2 separate regions of the Homo sapiens genome follow, and region 1 is linked to region 2. Evidence: promoter capture Hi-C in 16 types of primary human blood cells and fetal thymus (Javierre and others, 2016). All regions are on one chromosome and are shown on one strand. Each heading gives the region's core, a stretch centred on a gene start or on the middle of the fragment in contact. The rest is flanking DNA. Distances are from core to core; before and after follow the strand shown.

Region 1 (2,715 bases), core at 10-2,509, 69 kb after region 2:
ATCTGCTCTCTGTCTCTGCTGGTCTGTGAGCTCCCTGAGGCCATTCATGCAGTGACGGGGGCTCAGGAAATGTCTATCCACTGGAAAATAAAGTGGGTGGGGGTGCTGGGGGGGAGCAGCAGTAGCCTCCTAAGTCTTTCCGTAGGGATGTGGGACAAGAACCAGAATAGATGGAGTCGGAAACCCCAAGAGGAGAAAAGAGGGTAAATAGTAGGTCAGATGTCCCTTCCAGAGTAGCAGGGGCCAAGCTTCTGCACTCCAGGAGTGCGGGGTCTATAAAGTCCCACTTAACAGAGGTGGAGAAGAAGGCACAAAAGATAAAGGTTCCCAGTAAGTCCTGGAAGCTCGGCGACTTGAGCCCAGTTCTTTGTTCCGCATCCTCCAGAAGTGGAGGTAAAGGACAGTCATGGGCCAGGCACCGTGGTGATGCCTCTAATCCCAGCACTTTGGGAGGCCGAGGCAGGCGGATCACTTGAGGTCAGGAGTTTGAGACCAGCCTGGGCAACATGTTGAAACCCCGTCTCTACAAAAAATACAAAGATTAGCTGGGCATGGTGGCACTTGAACTTGGGAGGTGGAGGTTGCCGTGAGCCGAAATCGCGCCACAGCACTCCAGCCCGGAGTCTGGAGGCAACAGAGGGAGACTCCTCCATCTCGAAAAAAAAAAAAGAAAAAAAAGGACAGTCATGGAGAGAGTTCCTGTCCCCCAGCAGGCCTCCCTAAACCCTGCCTCTGCCCTGGGTAGCAGAGTCCTCTCAGAAGCCCAAGCCTCAGTTTCCCCATCTGCAGAAGGGATAATAACCATCACCTCCATGAGCAGTTGTGAACACCTCTTAGGTGGCGTTCTTTTAAATGCCCAACATGTGGTAGTTTGGATCTGTAGACCGAGGACCCCTGTGCTGGCTGAAGGTGGCACCCTCTGGGTCCCGGGGACTGATGTGAGGCTCCCCCTGACCCCATGCCCCAGGTCCTGAACCTGTTCCTGGCTCTGCTGCTGAGCTCCTTCAGCGCCGACAGTCTGGCAGCCTCGGATGAGGATGGCGAGATGAACAACCTGCAGATTGCCATCGGGCGCATCAAGTTGGGCATCGGCTTTGCCAAGGCCTTCCTCCTGGGGCTGCTGCATGGCAAGATCCTGAGCCCCAAGGACATCATGCTCAGCCTCGGGGAGGCTGACGGGGCCGGGGAGGCTGGAGAGGCGGGGGAGACTGCCCCCGAGGATGAGAAGAAGGAGCCGCCCGAGGAGGACCTGAAGAAGGACAATCACATCCTGAACCACATGGGCCTGGCTGACGGCCCCCCATCCAGCCTCGAGCTGGACCACCTTAACTTCATCAACAACCCCTACCTGACCATACAGGTGCCCATCGCCTCCGAGGAGTCCGACCTGGAGATGCCCACCGAGGAGGAAACCGACACTTTCTCAGAGCCTGAGGATAGCAAGGTGAGCCGGGGCTGGGGCTCAGACAGACCCGGCTTCAAATTCTCCTGTGACCTGGAGCAAGCCCTAAGTCCTCTCTGAGCCTCAGTTTCTCCAGCTGTAAAATGGGGGTGGTGCCCTATGGCATTGTTGCAAGCATTATGTGAGACGCTGTATGTAAAGCATGCAGTCCGCGCCCTGTGAGTGGTGGCAGTCACTATCGTTATTGATGTGGTTATTATGATCAACCCTGTCTGTCCAGAAACCCTGATTCCCTCGGACCAGAACACCTGGGCCCCTCTCACCAGCAGGTGGTGCCCTTGGACATGCTGCTTTTACCTGGGCACCGCAGCTCCAGGACCAGGACCTGAGAGGCCTCTCTTACATATTCTCCTCTGGGTTTGAGGCCCCTTGCCCAGTCCTCACACTTATCCTCTATCTCTGTTTAGACCCCACCTGGGTCTGCTCCCAACCTCCCAGTGTGGGCCAAAGTGCCAGATCCAGGCAGGGGATTCAGGAGAGGAGCTAGGGGCCAACGGGAGTTGAGGACAAGGAGGACAGAAGCCTCAGGCAGGAGCCCTGACCCCTCAGCCATGCAGGGGGTGTGCTGCTGGGCTCAGATGCCCCTCCCCACCCCTCCACTGCGAGGTCGAGGAAGGGACAGGAACGCAGCGGTGGTAACCCCCAGCAGCTGAGGCTGAGGCTGAGGCTGACCCTGCCTGGGTCTTGAGCCCCCTTCCCCACTGTCCAGCTCTGGCAGGGAAAGGACTCATACAGGAGCTAGGACGAGGGCCCCTGCCCACCCCTGCACCATCAGCCTGAGCCTAATGAACTTTGCCCTGAAAGCTTTTGACTCCTTATTCCCCCCAAATATGCTGGCTTACCAGGAAGCGAGTGCCTGTGAGCTATAAATACCCAGGCAACTGTGGCACAGACCTCGGTATGAGGCACTCAGGTGGCGGGGGAGCTGGAGAGCACCAAAGTCCCAGGCTCCCCGGGGCCGGGGCCGGGGCCTGGGGACTTGTTCAAGGAGGGCGAGCACAACTCCAAGGGAGATTTAGGGAGTTGAGTGCACAATCGGGGCAAGCAACTCAGTGGATGCCCTGGCTGACCTAACACTCTGTGCCTCAGTTTCCCTTTTAGTCTAATGAAAACAAGGACCCCCACCCCGGCCATGGTGGTTTTCTGGTCACCACTCTGGATACAGAGCTGCCCCCCAAGTTGCCCTCTTCTTCCTTCTCTTCAGAGGCCTCACCCTCAGCCTTGAAGGGGTCCCCTGCCGGGTGGAGTCTGGG
Region 2 (2,700 bases), core at 141-2,640:
TGGCCGACATGATGAAACCCCATCTCTACTAAAAATACAAAAATTAGCCAGTCGGCACGTGCCTGTAATCCCAGCTACTCAAGAGGCTGAGGCAAGGCCAGGCACGGTGGCTCATGCCTGTAATCCCAACACTTTGGGAGGCCAAGGCGGGCGGATTGCCTGAGCTCAAGAGTTTGAGACCAGCCTAGGCAACATGGTGAAACCCCATCTCTGCTAAAATACAAAAGAAATTAACCAGGCGTGGTGGCGTGCACCTGTAGTCCCAGCTACTCAGGAGGCTGAGGCAGGAGAATTGCTTGAACTCGGGAGGCGGAGGTTGCAGTGAGCCGAGATCACACCACTGCACTCCAGCACTCCAGCCTGGGCGACAGAGTGAGGCTCCATCTCTACAAAACAAACAAACAAACAAACAACAACAACAACAACAAAAACACTGAGGCAAGAGAATCGTTTGAACCTGGGAGGCAGAGGTTACAGTGAGCCAAGATCACACCACTGCACTCCAGCCTGGGCAACAGAGCGAAACTCCATCTCAAAAAAAAAAAAAGAAAGAAAAGAGAAAGAGAGAGCTCCAGAGATGGATGGTGGTGATGGTTGCAGAACAATGTGAATGTACTTAGTGCCCCAAACTGTACACTTAAACATAATTAAAATGGGCCTAGCACGGTGGCTCATTCCCAGCATTTGGGAGGCTGAGGTGGGAGGATTGCTTGAGCTCAAGAGTTTGAGACCAGGCTGGGCAACATAAGCAACACTCTGTCTCTACAAAAACTACAGAAATTAGCCAAGCCTGGTGGCTGCACACTTGTAGTCCCAGTCACTTGGGAAGTTGAGGAGGGAGGGTCACTTGAGCTCAGGGGTCAGAGGTTGCCACGAACTGTGATTGTGCCACTGCACTCCAGCCTAGGTGACAAAAGCAAGACTCTGTCTTAAAAACAACACAACAAAAAATTGGCTGGACGCAGTGGCTCTTGCCTGTAATCCTAGCACTTTAGGAGGCCGAGGAAGGCAGTTCACTTGAGGTCAGGAGTTCGAGACCAGCCTGGCCAACATGGTGAAACCCTGTCTCTACTAAAAATACAAAAATTAGCCAGGCGTGGTGGCAGGTGCCTGTGGTCCCGGTTACTCTGCGGGCTGAGGCACAAGAATCACGTGAACTCGGGAGGCAGAGGTTGCAGTGAGCCGAGATCACACCACTGCACTCCAGCCTGGGTGACTGAGACTCAGTCTAAAAAAAAAAAAAAAATTGAAATGGTAAATTCTGTTGTGTACGTTTTACCACAATTAAAAAAAAAAAAAGCGGAATGGGAGTGGAGCTAAATGAGGCTAGTTTAGGGTGGGAACCGGGGCACAGGAAGCACGTCACTTCTGGTGGGGAGTGGGGGGAGGGAGAAGACTGAATAAGCCGTGAACTGGGCAGCTGTGACACGCGCACCTTGTCACCTTGTCACCAATTTCCTGCCCGGGATCCCAGAGCTACCCTTCTTGGAGCCCACAGGGGTAAGGTTGAGCTTCTCACTTTCCCTCCAATGAAGCGTGGCAGCATGGGAAGGATTTTGGCAGTGTCGAGGTCTGAGTTTTAGTCCGTTCCCCTCTCTGGGTCTCAGTTTCTCGCTGGTAAGTGCAGGGGTTGGGGAATCCCCAGCGCTCCTGTGGCTCGACATTCTGCACTCTGTGAAGCTCCTGCCCTGCCCTGCTGGGTCTCTGAGCTCACGCACTTGCCCTGGCGCTCCTTTCCTGATTTGTCTCCCCTCTCTCCTTCCTCTGCTCTGCCATCTCGGTGGCCGATGTAGAAATGTGGGGCTGCCTCCTTATTTAGGGGCCCACGTGGGCTGTGATCTGGACCATCTGAGCTGATGCAGAGGGGAAGGGACAGTCCCTGTTCTCCCCGGCAGGCGTGGTGGGTTCATAATGAATCTCAGTCACTCACTTCCTACCTGCCTCGGTTCGAGGGGGTCTTTCCTAACCCATGGCTCACATTCCCATGAAGCCTCTTCTTTCTAGGCACGTAGAAAGGCCCTTTTTCCCTTTTATTATTTTTGTAAAATTTACTAGGTAACGCATAAAAAGCTTATGTAACATACATATACATCATACTGCACAGTAATATACCAAACACACCTGAAGCTGCCACTCAGCACAAGGATGGAGTATCACCAAACTGCAAACACCACTTATCTGCTTTTTTTTTTTTTTTTTTTTTTTGAGACAGAGTTTTCATTCTTGTCGCCCAGGCTGGAGTGCAGTGGCACAATCTTGGCTCACCACAACCTTCGCCTGCTGGGTTCAAGCGATTCTCTTGTCTCAGCCTCCCAAGTAGCTGGGACTACAGGTGCGCATGCCACCATGCCCAGCTAATTTTTGTGTTTTTGGTAGCGACAGGGTTTCACTATGTTGGCCAGGAGAGTCTCGATCTCTTGACCTCATGATCCGCCCACCTCGGCCTCCCAAAATGCTGGGATTACAGGCGTGAGCCACCACACCTGGCCACCACTTGTCCACTTTTATGCTACTTGCCTCCCACCCACAGGTAGCCACCCTCTGGAATTTTGTGTTTATTGTTCTCTTATTTTTAAGTGCTTTATTACATATGCATCTCTATTTATTTATTTATTTATTTATTTACTGAGATGGGGTCACACTATATTTCCCAGGCTGGAGTGCAGTGGCTATTCACAGGCATGATCATAGCACACTACA

The links. Contacts are between HindIII fragments. The CHiCAGO score rates a contact against its expected background, and 5 or more counts as called.
Region 1: a fragment that was not itself captured here is called in contact with the fragment with the promoter of ICAM2 in region 2 in 8 of 17 cell types (naive B cells, total B cells, naive CD4 T cells and 5 more); the score reaches 11.8 in naive B cells.

What each region holds. Positions count from the first base shown.
Region 1 is chr17:63,950,153-63,952,867 of GRCh38, reverse strand. It overlaps SCN4A (sodium voltage-gated channel alpha subunit 4), which reads left to right. Exons shown (of 24, transcript NM_000334.4): 14 at 968-1,444. Among named protein-coding and RNA genes, the nearest start is that of CD79B, 19 kb to the right of the region's middle. RefSeq lists a silencer at 1,585-1,879, an enhancer at 1,847-1,906 and an insulator at 1,016-2,715. The HindIII fragment of the contact is 2,018 bases long and covers 251-2,268 here.
Region 2 is chr17:64,019,323-64,022,022 of GRCh38, reverse strand. ICAM2 (intercellular adhesion molecule 2) reads left to right here and starts at 1,390. Exons shown (of 5, transcript NM_001099789.2): 1 at 1,390-1,500. RefSeq lists enhancers at 951-1,000, 1,221-1,310, 1,056-1,556, 1,651-1,770. The HindIII fragment of the contact is 3,360 bases long and covers 1-2,072 here.